6 separate regions of the Homo sapiens genome follow, and regions 1, 2, 3, 4 and 6 are each linked to region 5. The links are contacts of gene promoters, found by promoter capture Hi-C in blood cells and fetal thymus (Javierre and others, 2016). All regions are on one chromosome and are shown on one strand. Each heading gives the region's core, a stretch centred on a gene start or on the middle of the fragment in contact. The rest is flanking DNA. Distances are from core to core; before and after follow the strand shown.

Evidence for each region. The method cuts DNA at HindIII sites, captures the fragments that hold promoters and counts their contacts. A CHiCAGO score of 5 or more calls a contact.
Region 1: a contact is called between the fragment with the promoter of SPATA21 here and the fragment with the promoter of FAM131C in region 5, in 2 of 17 cell types (erythroblasts and endothelial precursors). The highest score is 5.5, in erythroblasts.
Region 2: a contact is called between a fragment that was not itself captured here and the fragment with the promoter of FAM131C in region 5, in 1 of 17 cell types (endothelial precursors). The highest score is 7.1, in endothelial precursors.
Region 3: a fragment that was not itself captured here is called in contact with the fragment with the promoter of FAM131C in region 5 in 1 of 17 cell types (activated CD4 T cells); the score reaches 7.9 in activated CD4 T cells.
Region 4: a fragment that was not itself captured here is called in contact with the fragment with the promoter of FAM131C in region 5 in 1 of 17 cell types (activated CD4 T cells); the score reaches 8.9 in activated CD4 T cells.
Region 6: a contact is called between a fragment that was not itself captured here and the fragment with the promoter of FAM131C in region 5, in 3 of 17 cell types (endothelial precursors, naive CD4 T cells and fetal thymus). The highest score is 6.3, in endothelial precursors.

Annotation. Positions count from the first base shown.
Region 1 is chr1:16,436,151-16,438,850 of GRCh38, forward strand. It overlaps SPATA21 (spermatogenesis associated 21), which reads right to left and starts at 1,274. Exons shown (of 13, transcript NM_198546.1): 1 at 978-1,274. RefSeq lists a silencer at 2,004-2,174. The HindIII fragment of the contact is 2,188 bases long and covers 938-2,700 here.
Region 2 is chr1:16,385,471-16,388,170 of GRCh38, forward strand. The region is part of intron 1 of SZRD1 (SUZ RNA binding domain containing 1); the gene reads left to right. Among named protein-coding and RNA genes, the nearest start is that of SZRD1, 20 kb to the left of the region's middle. RefSeq lists enhancers at 111-611, 612-1,112. The HindIII fragment of the contact is 1,519 bases long and covers 532-2,050 here.
Region 3 is chr1:15,799,859-15,802,558 of GRCh38, forward strand. No RefSeq gene overlaps it. Among named protein-coding and RNA genes, the nearest start is that of UQCRHL, 6.4 kb to the right of the region's middle. RefSeq lists an enhancer at 376-670. The HindIII fragment of the contact is 1,225 bases long and covers 707-1,931 here.
Region 4 is chr1:15,782,782-15,785,481 of GRCh38, forward strand. FBLIM1 (filamin binding LIM protein 1) reads left to right here. Exons shown (of 9, transcript NM_017556.4): 9 at 1,767-2,700. The coding sequence ends at 1,880. Among named protein-coding and RNA genes, the nearest start is that of UQCRHL, 24 kb to the right of the region's middle. The HindIII fragment of the contact is 6,840 bases long and covers 1-2,700 here.
Region 5 is chr1:16,072,398-16,075,097 of GRCh38, forward strand. It overlaps FAM131C (family with sequence similarity 131 member C), which reads right to left and starts at 1,254. Exons shown (of 7, transcript NM_182623.3): 1 at 1,024-1,254. The coding sequence starts at 1,045. RefSeq lists a silencer at 1,149-1,308 and an enhancer at 1,517-2,016. The HindIII fragment of the contact is 12,659 bases long and covers 1-2,700 here.
Region 6 is chr1:16,348,138-16,350,837 of GRCh38, forward strand. All of the region lies in intron 1 of FBXO42 (F-box protein 42), which reads right to left. Among named protein-coding and RNA genes, the nearest start is that of FBXO42, 3.0 kb to the right of the region's middle. The HindIII fragment of the contact is 2,783 bases long and covers 1-2,700 here.

The DNA of each region.
Region 1 (2,700 bases), core at 24-2,523, 360 kb after region 5:
CCGAGGCGGGCAGATCACCTGAGGTTGGGAGTTTGAGACCAGCCTGACCAACATGGAGAAACCCCGTCTCTACTAAAAGTACAGAATTAGCCGGGCATGGTGGCACATGCCTGTAATCCCAGCTAGTCAGGAGGCTGAGGCAGGAGAATTGCTTGAACCTGGCAGGTGGAGGGTTGCAGTGAGCCGAGATCGCACCATTGCACTCCAGCCTAGATGACAGGGTGAGACTCTGTCTCAAAAAAAAAAAAAAAAAATACAGATAGGGTGCAGTGTATACTGCTCAGGTGATGGGTGGACCAAAATCTTACAAATCACCACTAAAGAACCTACTCATGCAGGGCAAGGTGGCTCACGCCTGTAATCCCAGAACTTTGGGATGCCAAGGGGGGCAGATCACTCGAGGTCAGGAGTTTGAGATCACCCTGGCTAACATGGTGAAATCCTGTTTCTACTAAAAATACAAAAATTAGCTGGGCATGGTGGTGCCTGCCTGTAATCCTAGGTACTTGGGAGGCTGAGGCAGGAGAATCGCTTGAACCTGGGAGATGGAGGTTGCAGTGAGCAGAGACTGCACCACTACACGCCAGCCTGGGCAACAGAGCAAGACTCCGTCTCAAAAAAAATTACTAATGTAAACAAAAAAAAAACACCAAAAAACAAAAACCTTAGTCATGTAGCCAAATACCACCTGTACCCCAATAACCTATGGAAAAACAAATAAATAAATAAATAAATAAAAAGTTTTGAAATCAGGAAGTGTGAGTCCTCCAACTTTGTTCTTTTTCAAAATTCTTTGGGTATTGAGTGCCCCTTTTATAAGTGGTTTCCTCATCTGAAAAATGGGAGAATTTCTCTTGGAAATATCTATGATGGCAGGAAAATACAGCAGATAAAGATAAGTGGCATATCATATATATGTCTGGAGGCCGTCAGGGAAAGCTTGTTCACCTTACACCCCACCTTGGCCCTGCACCTACCAGAAATCAGCTGGATGAGTCACAGTGAGATTTTCCACCCCTGCTCACCGCCTTGCACATAGGATGGGCTCTGTCTGAGCCTATACTTTGCCTGTTGGCTTGAATTGGATTTGTTTGGTATACAGGGCAGTTAAACTGGGAATAGATGGCAGGTCCAATTATTCTCAGCAGCAGAGGTTTAGGAATGCATTTCAGGAATATCCAGCCATGTGGTTAGGGTTTGAGAATAAGGCAAGGGGCTGTGTGACCTCCAACTACTGGACAGTGTCATTTCCCCCAGCTTGTCACTGGTTCAGTGGCCCCCATTACACAATGAAGATAACAATCGTTGCCTTGCCAACCTCACAGTGATTATTGGGCCAGGGTACTCTCTCCCAGAAAGCCTTCCCTGACTCTCCCCAGACTGTGTGGGGTTTCTTCTCTTTGCTCCCACAGGCCCCTGTGAATTTGCTTCATTACAGTACCTTTCATTCTGCTTTGCCAATGACTGCTTTTCTCTCTGTCTCCTCCAGTCTGCGAGCTCCAGGATGGTAGGAGCTGGATTGGCCACATCCCAGTGACCCCAGTACTCAGCACCTGGCATAGGGTATGTGCTCGATGCCTGTCTTTGTTAGACTGAACAGAACTGAAAGTGCTCTGAATGGCTGGGTGCGGTGGCTCACACCTGTAATCCCAGCACTTTGGGAGGCCGAGGTGGGTGGATCACTTGAGGTCGAGTTATAGACCAGCCTGGCCAACATGGTGAAACCCCGTCTCTACTAAAAATACAAAAATTAGCCAGGCATGGTGGCGCATGCCTGTAATCCCAGCTACTTAGGAGGCTGAGGCACGAGAATCACTTGAACCTGGGAGGCAGAAGTTGCAGTGAGCTGAGATCATGCCACTGTCTTCCAGCCTGGGTGGTAGAGTGAGACTTAGTCTCAAAAAAAAAAAAATTGGAAAATAAGGCCAGGTATGGTGGCTCATGCCTATAATCCTAGCACTTTGGAAGGCTGAGGCAGGAGGATCTCTTGAAGACAGGAATTCAAGACCAGCCTGGGCAACATAGCAAGACCCCCGTCTCTACAAAAAGTAAGAAAAATAGCAGGGTAGGGTGGTGTGTGCCTGTAGGCCCAGCTACTCAAAAGGTTGAGGCAGGAGGATCCCTTGAGCCCGGGAATTTGAGGCTGCAGTGAGTGATGATCGCACCATTGCACTCCAGTGTGGGGTGACAGAGAGAGAAAGAAAGAGAGAGACCCTGTCTAAAAAAAAAAAAAAAAAGAAAAGAAAAAGAAAAGAAAAGAAAAGAAAAATAACCAATATTTGCAAAAATGTGAAGAAATTGAAACCCTTGTGAACGTAAATGGTGCTGCTGCTGTGGAAGACAGTTTGGAGGCTCCTCAAAAAGGTGAGCAAGGCCGGACATGGTGGTTCACACCTGTAGTCCCAGCTACTTGGGAGGCTGAGTTGGGAGGATCACTTGAGCCTGGGAGGTTGAGGCTGCAGTGAGCCATGATCATGCCAGTGCTTTCCAGCCTGGGCAACAGAGTGAGATGCTGTTTCAAACAAAACAAAACAAAACAAAACCACTAAACATAGCATTATTGTATAACTCAGCAGTTTCACTCCTATGTATACACTCAAGAAAATGGAAAACAGGACTAGAACAAGTGTTTGAACACCAATGCTCATAGTAGCCCGATTCCCAATACCAAAAGGTGATAACATCCCAATTGTTGACAGA
Region 2 (2,700 bases), core at 41-2,540, 310 kb after region 5:
ACTTGCTGTGCTTTACACTAAGACCCAGAATAGCCTATTTCTTCCTCTCCTCTGCCTTTCTCACCTTTCTTTTTTCCTTGTCATCGACCTCTTAACGTTACAGGAGTAAACCTACCACTGTAATCTGCTTCACCTTACAGACACATCCCTATCTTTTGTCACCTTTGTTCCTTTTGTAGCTTGTGACAGTAACAAACTGGGTTGTTTGAGGTGACCCCTTCCCTGCTCTCCTCCTTGGGAATGATCTTATCCGCATTGTACTCCTAGGTCCCATACCCTAACTTTTCAGCCAGAGGCACATTTATAGCAAGGTTAAGGGCATCAGCAGCCAGTGAAGCTGAGCTTCCTCCTCTGGTGAGTTAAAATTGCAAATGTTGACATCTGATCCCATTCACCTTGTGGTTGTGGCTCTCCTTTACCTCCCATAAAGGACCAGCCCTGTCGAGAACCACCTTCCTCCCCACTGTGCTTCTTCATGATTTCCTGCCTCCGCTCTTTCCTTCTGGCTTTGCTTGTTCTCTGAGACCGAGAAGCTTGTGTCCCATTTCTGTAGATGTGTAGCCTCATAGGACAAGTGATGTCAAGGTTTGGCAACAGTAGATCTTTTGCTTAGGATTTGGACCCGGAACACAGAATGTCACCTTCTGTGGGCTGCTTGGTGCTACTTGGCTGAAGAGCCTTTCCAGGAGCAGGAGCCATAGGAGATCACTTTCCTGGCCACCGCCCTGTGTGGTATGCTTGTGCCCTAGCACTTGCCTTGTGCCCACTCACAGCAGTCACAGCGATGGTTTTCTTTGACTAGCGATGGAGGTCAGGCCTCTAACACAGGAGCCTAGACCTTGGGCAGGACTCTGCATCCTTGTCTAAAGAGAGGGTTCCCTTAGGTAGTACGATTCCTTATTTCAGGCCTGCATCTAGATGCTTCCCCACACAAGTTCTGAGGCCTGTTTAATTCCATTGGGCTATTGCATCTCTGGGGGAGATGCACATTTTCCTTGTAATACACCCTGTAGGAAAGTTTTGACTTGGTCCAGCTTTTCAGAGCATGAGTCTGAGAGCAGATTGATTGCAAGGCCTTGTCTGAGAAGAGAATAGACTGACTCATGATACCTGGACAGACTCCAGAGGGAGATGCGATGCCCTCTCCAGCTGCTGGCAGAGCATTCCTTCTCCTGCTTGGGCGCCTCTGAGCATGCTGGCGTCCAGCTGGCCATCTAAAGATGACCAGGATCCACTTTCCACCAAAGCTGCTTGGGTTTCCATCCCATTCTGTAATCTTATGGAAGAATCCCTCTCCAGCTCTGATAAAGCTCTTCTGCCTTTCACAGTGGAGTTGGATGAGAGTTGTAGTTCTTGGCATGCCAGGGAGCAGTGTGGAATTGGGGGAGATGACCAATATCTAATGGTTTATACTGGCATTTCCAGGGGATTTGAGCAATTGTCGGGGGAGGGTGGTATGTCAGCATAGGGGCCTCAAAAGGCGAATTCTAGGGCTGTCTCTGTGGTTTACTACCTTGTGACCTTGGGTAAGTTCCCTAACCCTCATCTGACAGAAGGATAAAAGCTACTTTGTCTGCCAAACAGGGCTGGTGTGAGCAGAAAATGAATGTCTGGGGAAGAATGTTGACAGCCATAATACATTATATCGATATAAGGTATTATTTTAAAAGCTATTAGTATTATATTACATGCCAAGTATGTTAATCATGTTCTAGTTTGGGGACAGAGGCGCATTTACTCAGACATGGCCTACGATGTCCTCTTGAAGCGCTTTTCTTCCACCCAGGCTCCTTGTGCTGGAACTGGGCAGATGGTCCATCTTCCTTAAACCCTAGAGGAAGAAGGAAGCAGTTTGCTTTCCTCAGAGGAGACCTGGATGGGACTTCTCAAATTCACTCTAATGTGTGAGGCCCATTTCTCTCTCTGTCTTATTTGGCTCTCGCAGCGATATGAAAGTGAAAGTTCACATAGTGAAGTTGGAAAATTCAGTGCATTGCCATAAAAATACTGATTTGGTTTCTTCTGCGCTAGATCTGGCCCTGTCTGCCAAAGCTTGTTGGCCGTCATTAGGCAGGGCAAGTGCTCTTTGGTGCCCTGCAGCCCCTTCACTTCCCCAGGTATGCTCCGTGCGAGTGGAGTTTGGCTGCTTGCCTGGTCTATGAAGGCATTTGGTCTCAACCCTCAAAGGCTTCTAAATTCTACAGCTGTCAAGGCTCTGTTTATGATGGAGAAACTCGAATAGGCAGTCTTGTATTTAGAGTGGAGCGAAATGATACAGTATGAAACTTTAAAACAAGAAGTTACTTGTGAGAAGCCCTTAAAAGGTAATAGGCAATAGACTAATATGAGCTGTAGTACTTACTCAGGTAATAACACTGGTATTAATAGAATTAATACAATTCCATCAATACAGTCATTTTCAGGACAGAGTACGTAGTGGACATAGATTCTGTGTGAGTGTCTGTGTTTGTCAGTTCACAGAAAACATCCAGGTCGTTCTCTTATTATTGGTGTACCTTTTCCATTCAGTCATTCAGCATTCTTTGGCACCAACTGTGTTCCAAGCTGGAGCGAGAGGTTTCCATTTTAGTGCCTTTCTGGCCCCTCCAGAGATTTGATGGTGCCTCAGAATACAATAAATTACATATATATATATATTTTGAGACAGAGTCATGCTCTATTGCCCAGGCAGGAGTGCAG
Region 3 (2,700 bases), core at 69-2,568, 270 kb before region 5:
AACGGTGAGAAGGAAGAACCCCAAGCCAGTAGAACCCCAAGCCGGTAGAACCCCAAGCCGGTAGGGCAGATGAACTTGCCATAGAGTCCAACTGCCCATAACCACAGAGGTGGTGGCCGGGCCCAGAGAGGGTGTGAGACCGGCCGAGCTCACACAGCTGGTTAGTGGCCAAGCCCTGGGTGTCCTGACTGCCAGAACAGGGCTTTCCCACCCCTCCCACCGCCTCTCTTATCTTCCAAGACCTACTTGTAAACACAGGCAGGCACCTGCAAACATCTGATCACCTCTGCGAGGAGGAGGATGAAGGTGGGGGAATGAAGGCGTGCAGGTGAATCAGGTCAGTGTTGCTCATAGGCTGACCCAGTGCGGATGGTCCCGTCAGTGGCAAGGAGGGCAGGATTCTGCACGGGTGAGAGCACTTGCCCTAGGGGGATGCAGTGAGTCACTGGGTGCAAAGTTCACACTCCTCCTTCCTCCTGGCTTTGATCTGAGTTCCCTGGAGGGAGGTGCAGCCTGGATTCCTGGAGGCGGGGCCATCTCCTCTCCCTGCCCTGCCCTGTGGGTCCAGATTGGGAGGCCGGCTGTCTCCACTCCTCTCTGAACTCCCACACACACCTTTTCGAGGCCCTAGTAAGTTTCCATGTTGGCCTCACTGGCGGGGTCAGACTTGACCTATCACCTAGGACATTCGCTGCAGGAAGTTGGAAGCTTCCCTCTCCTGCTGAGCTCAGCCATGCGTCTTACTGCCTGGTGCCACATTCCGTTCCCTCCTGTCTCTGGGAGGATGATCAGATCTGGCAGAGAGCCCAGGCCTGCCCAACCAGCGGAACAAAATAAATGACCGCAGGGTGGGACTCCGCGGACACCAAGACACCAGGGAACTCTTGGACTGAGCACCAGAGGAACTAACCCCAGTAGCTGCCCCCGAGCAAGGACCTACTACTGATGCTGCCAACAGCCCCGGGAGACAGAAATATTATCACCCTTATTTTATAGAGAGGAGAAAAGAGGGGTGCAAGGGTCATGGGGACAGTGACTGATCCTGACATCCACTAAGGGCCCTCTTGGGTTTTGTGTCATGAGTTGAAAGGGAAGCAGCTGGCAAGGTGGTGTGACATTGAGCTGCGCAAGTGCAGGTGAGATGCGGTGGAGGTGGAGCAGTGGGACTGACCAGTGTTGGGGTTTTGTCAGGACCGCAGGAGGGGGTGGGGGTGGGGCCTGACCATGAATTGTAGGCTGGGCAGGAAGGACACGGAGGGCAGGCAGGCTGAGGGACATGCAAAGGGGGCAGGATCCATGGACTGCTGGAGCCGGGGCACTGGAGGAAAGAAATGAGGTGAGGTCAGAGAGGTCAGTCAATAGATATTATAGAGGAGGGGCAGTCACTGGTCACGGGGGACAGATACTGGGGTGGCACTGCTCCTAGGGTGTAAACCCTTGGCACATAGCCTGCATAGAACAGGCCCTCAGAGAGTATTTGTGGAATGAATGAGTGGCTACTTGCAGTCTGGGGTTGGGTGACTCAAAGGATATTTTACTTTCTTCTCTCTAGCTTTTTTTTTTTTTTTTCTGAGATGGAGTCTCACTCTATTGCCCAGGCTGGAGTGCAGTGGGGCAATCTTGGCCCACTGCAACTTCTGCCTCCCAGGTTCAAGCGATTCTCCTGCCTCAGCCTCCTGAGTAGCTGTGATTACAGGCACCCACCACTATTCCCACTAATTTTTGTATTTTTAGTAAATACGGGGCTTCATCATGTTGGCCAGGTTGGTCTCAAACTCCTGACCTCAGGTAATCTGCCCACCTCAGCCTCCCAAAGTGCTGGGATTACAGGTGTGAGCCACTATGCCCGGCGGCCTGCTTTTATTTATTTATTTTTTTTAATAACAGCTTTACTGAGATATGAATCACACATACAAAATTCACCCTTTTAAAGCTTTCTTTTTTTTGAGACAGGGTCTCGTTCTGTCACACAGGCTGGAGTGCAATGGTGCGATCATGGCTCACTGCAGCCTTGACCTTCTGGGCTCAAGCCATCCTCCAGCCTCAGCCTCTTGAGTAGGCTGGACCATAGGCGCACACCATCTTGCCTGGATAACTTTTGATTTTTCTTTTTTTTTCTGTAGAGATAGGGACTCACTGTGTTGCTCAGGCTGGTCTTGCACTCCTGGGCTCAAGTGATTCTCCCGCCTCAGCCTCCCAAAGTGCTGGGATTACAGGTGTGAGCCACTGTGCCCAACTCTGATTTTTTTACAGTAAGCACATGATAAGGGAGGAGACCACCCCTCATATTGTCTTATGCCCAATTTCTGAATCCAAAGAAAGAAGTAGTAAAAACTAAAAGGCAGAAATGGAATCCACAGGCAGATAGCCCAGCACTGCACCCTGGGCCTGGAGTTAAAAATCAACCCCGACCTAACTCTTCTGTTATCTATAGATTTCAGACATTGTATGGAAAAGCGTCGTGAAAATCCCTGTCCTCTTCCTTTCCGTTCTGATTACCAGTGCATGCAGCCCCCAGTCACGTACCCTCTGCTTACTCAATCGATCACGACCCTCTCACGCGGACCGCCTTAGAGTTGTAAGCCCTTAAAAGGGACAGGAATTGCTCACTCGGGGAGCTCGGCTTTTGGAGACGTGAATCCACCGATGCTCCCAGCTGAATAAAGCCCTTTCCTTCTACAACTCGGTTTCTGAGGGGTT
Region 4 (2,700 bases), core at 18-2,517, 290 kb before region 5:
TGACCCCAAAGTAGTCCCTATAGGGACTCTTTTTTTTTTTTTTTTGAGACGGAGTCTTGCCCTGTCTCCCAGGCTGGAGTGCAGTGGCGCGATCTCAGCAACCTCCTCCCGGGTTCAAACAATTCTGTCTCAGCCTCATGAGTAGCTGGGATTACAGGCACCCACCACCACGCCCGGCTAATTTTTATATTTTTAGTAGAGACGGGGTTTCACCATGTTGGCCAGGCTGGTCGCAAACTCCTGACCTCATGATCCGCCCGCCTCAGCCTCCCAAAGTGCTGGGCTTACAGGCGTGAGCCACTGCGCCTGGCCCCCTATAAGGACTCTTTTGTGGGATCAGTGCAGCTTCCAAAGGGTGCCCAGAACCAAGTCTCTGCGCGCAAATTGTCCCCCCTGTTATTCTCTAGCATGTGCCCAGGTGAGGTTTCTGGGGCAGAACAGTGACGTTGGTAGAATTTGGGCCCCGAGTCCCTGTGTTCCTCATTCTGAAATCCTTTGGTGATTTGAAAAATAGAAAATATTAATGTTTGTGCTGGTGTTGAAGCTGTGTGGGCTGTGGAGTCACAGAAAGGCCCCTGGAGCCAGATCCTGGAGACCCAGTCTGGTCCCAGCTCCAGAACCAGCTGTGTGACCTGGGGCAGAGCCCACTCCTCCCTGGACCTTGGTATCCCACCTGTGAAATGAAGGGACTGGACTAGATTCAGGCACTCATCAGCAGATACCCATGGCCTGTGCTGGGATGGGGACTTGGCCTTAAACAGGGTTCCTGTCTCGTAGAACTTACGTTCTTTTTTTTTTTTTTTTTTTTTTTTGAGATGGAGTCTCGCTCTGTCACCCGGGCTGGAGTGTAGTGGCACGATCTCGGCTCACTGCAAGCTCTGCCTCCCGGGTTCACGCCATTCTCCTGCCTCCTGCCTCAGCCTCCCACATAGCTGGGAGTACAGGCGCCCGCCACCACGCCCGGCTAGTTTTTTGTATTTTTAGTAGAGATGGGGTTTCACCGTGTTAGCCAGGATGGTCTCTATCTCCTGACCCTGTGATCCGCCCGCCTCAGCCTCCCAAAGTGCTGGGATTATAGGCGTGAACCACCGCGCCCGCCCAGAATTTATGTTCTAAAGGGGTTATTGAAGCCGGGCGCACTGGCTCACACCTGTAATCCCAGCATGGGAAGCCAAGGTGGGCGGATCACTTGAGGTCAGGAGATCGAGACCAGCCTGACCAACATGGCAAAACCCTGTCTACTAAAAATACAAAAATTAGCTGGGTGTGGTGGCACACGCCTGTAATCCCAGCTACCTGGGAGGCAGGAGAATCGCTTGAACCCGGGAAGCAGAGGTTGCAGTGAGCCAAGATCGTGCCACTGCACTCCAGCCTGGGCGACAGAGCAAGACTGTCTCAAAATAAATAAATGATAAAAACAAATTTTAAAAAATAATAAAGGAGCTATTAAGACTCTTCTAGCCCCAACTTTCCCTGAACCCTCAGGGGACTTCCCCAGGTGTCCTTAGTTCTCCTGACGGTGAATGTCTGTCCTCACCGGCGCCTCCACGTGGATTAAAGCCTCCATGTGTGTCTGTGTCTCATCTTCCCTTATGGAGACCTGGCCCGGGTGTTGGGAGGGCAGCAGTGAGCAGCCTCCTTCCTCCCACTTAGGAAGGGCATCCACTCATGCAGTTGGTTTATTCGGCAGATGCCAAGTGAGTCCCTCCCCTGTGCAGGCAGCGCCCAGGCCCAGGGCGGGTCAGCATGTGTCTTTGTCTCCCCAGGACTGCAGGATCCTCCTGTCTGTCGAGCCCACGGACCAAGGCTGCTACCCCCTGAACAACCATCTCTTCTGCAAGCCATGCCATGTGAAGCGGAGTGCTGCGGGGTGCTGCTGAGAGTGCCCGCTGGGCAGTGAACAGACCACTAGCCCCGGCTGGGGCCCTTCCCTGACTTGGTTTCCCTTCCTAACCTGCTCTTGCACACTTTCCTTCTGAGCCTCCATGGAGACCAGCCTGCAAGCCGGCCCAGCCTGTCCAGGATACAGTGGGGCTGAGCACCCCCAGGCCTTCCACTCCTCTACCCTCTGGGCACCAGAAGGCTCCTGGACCATGAGCTTCACCCCCAGAATTCCCTGCTGACCCTGCCCCACTTCCAGGGAAAAGCTGGGGGAGGTTGGACCCCTCTCACTGACTAGCTGTCTGGTAGGGGTGCTAGGACCAGCCTCGCCTGTGGGGTTGAGCTGTTTGAGGACAAACTCCAAGGTCCCTTAAAAAGTGCCTTTTAGAGGCTGGGCATGGTGGCTCACGCTTGTAATCCCAGCACTTTGGGAGGCCAAGGTGGGTGGATCACCTGAGGTCAGGAGTTCAAGACCAGCCTGGCCAACATGGTGAAACCCTGTCTCTACTAAAAATACAAAAATTAGCCAGGCATGGTAGCAGGTGCCTGTAATCCCAGCTACTGGGGAAAGCTGAGGCAGGAGAATTGCTTCAATCTGGAAGGCAGAGGTTGCAGTGAGATTGCACCATTGCATTCCAGCCTGGGCAACAAGAGGGAAACTCCGTCTCAAAAAAAAAAAAGTGCCTTTTAGGCCGGATGTGGTGGCTCATGCCTGTAATCCCAGCACTTTGGGAGGCCAAGGCAGGCAGATCACTTGAGGTCAGGAGTTTGAGACCAGCCTGGCCAACACGGCAAAACCCCGTTTCTACTAAAAATACA
Region 5 (2,700 bases), core at 4-2,503:
CTGGGTAAGCTACTAGGGGTGATGGGTGTGGTGGTGGTCAGTGGGTTTGGCCTCAGCCTGCAGAGCCTGAACCAAGGCCAAAGCCACCCCCACTCCCAGTCACACCCCCCTGATCCCACTGTGGGGTGAACAGACCAAGGTGGGAGAAGGGCTCAGCCCAATCGCTTGTCTAAAATGTTGCCCAACAGCCTGTTGGAAAGCTGGTGGTGATGGGTGGGGGTGGAGGTAGGGGGCTCCAAAGACCAAACTGCCCATCCCCCAATCTCTGTGCAAGACTGTGTGTCCCCTCCTCACAGATAGAAGAGGCTGGGGCCTGCCCTGGGCCCCCAGGCAAGGGCAGGTCCCCTCCACCTCCTTGGGTACCACGTGGGGGAGAGTGGAGGGTGACAGGTCAGACACAGAGAGAAAGGCCCAGGGGTAACTGGGAACATCAGCTGTGCTCTGGCCCTTCTGTCCCCTGTCCAAGGATGGGGGTGGGGAGGAGGATTAGGGGGCAGGGGAACCTTCTTTATAACCTGTGCCCCACCATTAACCCTTTCCTGCCAACAGGGTTCAGGGGCTCTGCAGATGGGGGCACCCGGTAAGACGTGGGAAGGGGCTGTGGGGGTGAGCTGGTAAGACCTGTGTCTTGGGGAGGGGTGGGAAAGGGAGGGTCTGCTAGTTCTCCCGGTGCCCGCAGTTCCTCCGGGAAGCCAGGAAGAACCAGAGCTGGTTCCCAGGCACCCGGCAGGGGGTGTGTGGCTGTAGGGATGAGAGCGCGGCACGGCACGGGACCCTGCTTCGTGTCACCTGCGGGGCTGCAAACTGGGGCGGGGATGCGGTGACCTCTGCACGTGCGCTCTCTGCGCTGCCCCCGCCCCCTACCGTCCCTAGCTCTGTCCCCCTCAGGACGCCGCGTCCCCAGGGGTGCGGCGGGGCCGTGAAGGGCGGGTCGCCAGCCCCATCCCCCAGGTCTCCGAGCGGCGAGGGGACTGCGCGGGTCCCCGGCACCCGATCCCCCCGCCCCCGGCCGGGCCCCCTCACCTCGCGACACGCAGGAGCCCATCACGGGGCCGCGGGGCCGGGCCGCTGCGCCCGGGGTGCGTGGGGCCGCGGGGCGTTCATGTCTCCGCGGGCCCGGGGCTGAGCGCTGCGGAGCCAGAGGACGGGCGGGGCGGGGGGCTCGGGCGCCCTCAGCTCGGCCTCAGCTCCAGCCTGGGTCGTCCCTGCTGCCGCCGCGCCCGGCTCGCCTCGCGCCGCCGCCTCCCGCGCAGTGCCCGCCGCTGCCAGGGGAGGGCGACACCGCGGGGCGCGGCGGGCGGGGCCCGGGGGAGCGCAGCCGGGAGGCTCGGGCACACCTGTGGCCGCAGCGCGCGGGAGGGCCATCTCTGTCCCTTCGGGGCTCCCCCACCTCCTGGGGTTGCCCGGGCTGAAGGTCAGGGAAGGGGACAGAGGGGGCGGGGAGACTCCTGGCATTTGGGGCACAAAGTAAACAACATGAATTTAACCACACCAACGACGACTGGGCACGAAGGCTTGGGAGCGAGGAGGGGTGCGCGCAAGAACAACAGTTCCATTGGGCCTATTTTTAGAGGATGAAAGTGAGGCTCGCAGAAGTTAGAGGCCTTGCCTGAGAGCCCTAAGCTGTGAGTTCAGCGACTTTTGACTGTCAGCGCCTCATTCAGAGCTATTGAAATTAACATATGCAAAATAATATATGCCCAGAGGTGGGGTAGAGAGAGTGCGGGTAGATAGTGCGCTGGTGGCCTGGCGGCGGGATGAAGGGTCTCCAGCGATGGTTGAAGAGGGGGGCAAGGCTGCCTCTCAGGGCTTGTCTAGGGCAGAGTAAACTGAGGCACAGGTTTTTTTCCCCAGCCCTGGACGGCCTCTGTAGTCATTCACACTTACTCGCACGTACCTACACACACACTCTCCCATGTGTACATACCCCTCATTCACACACTGATGGTCATACACACACATATATATGCACACTTGCATTTACATACACGCACACACACTCACATACCTACACATGAATACACAGTCTCCCATGTGTACATACCCACTCACACCCACACAATGACAGTTATACACTCACATTGAAGCACGCTTGCATTTACACACACACACACACACACACATCCCAGCTCCTGAGGTGTGAAGATCCTTTAGCAAAATTTCCCATGCACACAGCACTCAATGTCAGTGTCTGAGACCCTCACTCACACATAGCATCTCGCTCTCTCCTTCATGCCCACCTGTGCATCAGGCAGGGCAGGCACTCTTGTGTCTGTTTTCCAGTTGAGGCAGCCAGGTTCACTGGTGGCAGCAGAGAAATGTTTTGAAGAATGAATAAGGAGGGGCCAGGCGCGGTGGCCCACGCCTGTAATCCCAGCACTTTGGGAGGCCAAGGCAGGCAGATCACTTGAGGTCAGGAGTTCGAGACCAGCCTGGCCAATATGGTGAAACTCCGTCTCTACCAAAAATATAAAAAATTAGCTGGGTGTGGGCTTGGCACAGTAGTTCATGCCTGTAATCACACCACTTTGGGAGGCCGAGGTGGGCGGATCACCTGAGGTCAGGAGTTTGAGACCAGCCTAGCCAACATGGTGAAACCCCGTCTCTACTAAAAATACAAAAATTAGCCAGGCATGGTGGTGGTGGGCGCCTGTAATCCCAGCTACTCAGGAGGCTGAGGCAGGAGAGTTGCTTGAACCC
Region 6 (2,700 bases), core at 62-2,561, 280 kb after region 5:
AACTGAACACATCACCTTCACTTTTCCATCAGCCGCAACTTTAGATCACTCATTTTCAGTTAAGATACAGATGGTATATGTTCAATAATACAGTGCCACATAAAAATTTCACTCAATCCAAAAATTCGAAGTTTTTGCAATATAGGCAACAACACGCTAAATTAATTGTACAACAACTACAGCACTAAGGTAAATAACTTGTACTGGGATACAGAAGTTCAATATCAAAGCTACTAGCAACACCAATCCACATAGATTCTATAAAAGTTTAGTGTAATTCGTCGGGAGCGGTGGCTGAAGCCTGTAATCCCAGCACTTTGGGAGGCAAAGGTGGGCGGATCACATGGTCAGGAGTTCGAGACCAGCCTGGCCAATATGGTGAAATCCCACCTCTACTAAAAAAAAACTACAAAAATTAGCCGGGCGTGGGGCGGGTGCCTGTACTCCCAGCTACTCGGGAGGCTGAGGCAGGAGAATCGCTGGAACCCGGGAGGTAGAGGTTACAGTGAGCAGAGATTGCGCCACTGCACTCCAGCCTAGGCGATAGAGCAAGACTTGGTCTCAAAAAAATAAAAAAGAAAAAGAAAGTTTAGTGTAATTCTCACTTAAGCGGTCAGCTTCAATCAAAAAGGAATTAAGATCTTCTCATTTTATTTATTGTTGGGAAAAAGGAGACAGTACTAATAACCACCTATAATCAACATTGTAAGGAATAACAATTAAATATTTACTGTATTAATTGTCATCAAATTAAAAACACAGTGCCTCTTGTACTAGTTTACAAAACAAAAACAAAAAAGCATCATCACTCTAAAGTTGTCACCACTTAGTAATCTGAGATATTTTAATTGCAGCTGCAATGTTTGTGTTTGTTGCCTGTGTATATGACTCATATAGAAAGGTTTTCCCAAGACTGCTGGATTTTTGAGAATGCAGAAGCCATAACTGGGGCATACTGTGTGGGAACTGTCATGACAGTGAATGAATAAAAGGGGAAAAGAACCCATGACAGAATTTTTTTTCAAGTTTTTATAAAAAGCAAGTCACTCACTAAAGGCAGACTCTGCAGAATAATAGGAAAGGTTGGGGAAAAGCCATCCCTGCTCCAAGAAGCCTTCCTTGACTCTCTTGGTTGGATTCAGTGCACTTCTTAACACTACATAGCACTTAACGGGTTTCCTTGTCTGGCTCCCCAGCCATACTATATGCAACTTCAGACCAAAAGCTGTCTTAAATTAGTACCTACTTCCCAAAACACCCGCCATATGGAGGGCCCTCAGTAGGTGGTTCATAAATAGGAATAATCAATTTTACATTTACCTTTTATTTTACATTTTACAAAGCACTTTCACGAACACTATCTTTTCTGATCCACATTAACAATCGTGGGAAGGGCTTTATTTAATCAAATGGCTTCTGGTTTTATAAAGAGTTAATTCAGGGCCGGGCGCAGTGGCTCAAGCCTGTAATCCCAGCACTTTGGGAGGCCAAGGCAGGTGGATCGCCTGCGGTCAGGAGTTCAAGACCAGCCTGGCCAACATAGTGAAACCTTGTCTCTACTAAAAATACAAAAAATTAGCTGGGCATGATGGCAGGCACCTGCAATCCCAGTTACTCAGGAAGCTGAGGCAGGAGAATCGCCTGAACCGGAGAGGTGGAGGTTGCAGTGAGCCGAGATCATTGCACTCCAGCCTGGGAAACAAGAGCAAAACTATGTCTCAAAAAACAAACAAAAAGAGTTAATTCATTGACTAAAACAATTCTGAAATCACAAAGATAATTACGTATTTGTTCATCTTTGAGATAGCTTCTCCCTGGGACCTCAGTGTTCTCATAAAACTCAGACGTTTTGTTAGCATTTTCTTTGCTTGCTCTCCATAATAGGTAGGACTCACCCTGCTCTGAATCTTACTCAGGGTTTAAACCACATAAAGCTGTTATTAAAGACCCCTCTAGAAATCAGACAAGAAGAAGCATCCTAAGCTATTTTTTTTCTGATCCTGTTCTTTTTGTAACTAAGGTAAGGAATTGCAAAGGTCAAAATCTGGAGAGCAAATGATGTCATGGATGTCATGAAGTTGCATCAATACCTGATGATGATTTAGCATAACAGTGCAACATATTATGCCAAGAAGCATAATGATGAGCCACCAGGATGTTTTACTGCATTAATTTCATGACTCTTTATTAGCAAATTGATATGCAAAGTAGCTCTCCAATTTTCTACCACAGAGAAGCTGCTGGTTCAGATTTACATCTTTAGCAAAGACACTAAGAAAATCGACAAATTTCTATGGAAAAGTCTTTGATTTAAAAATAGAAAAGGAGGCTGGGCACGGTGGCTCAAGCCTGGGGTGGGGCAGGGTATCGCTTGAGACCAGGAGTTTGAGATCAGCCTGGGCAACATCGGTGAAACCCCGTCTCTACTAAAATTACAAAAAAAAAAAAAAAAAAAAAAAAATTAGCGGGCGTGGTGGCGCACACCTGTAATCCCAGCTACTCAGGAAGCTGAGGCAGGAGAATCGCTTAAACCCAGGGGATGGAGATTGCAGAGAGCCGAGACTGTGCTACTGCACTCCAGCCTGGATGACAGAGTGAGAAACTGCAAAAAAAAAAAAAAAAAGAAAGAAAGAAAGAAAGAAAGAAAGAAAGAAAGAAAATGGTCAAATAATAACCTAAACAGTTGTCATTTTAACAATG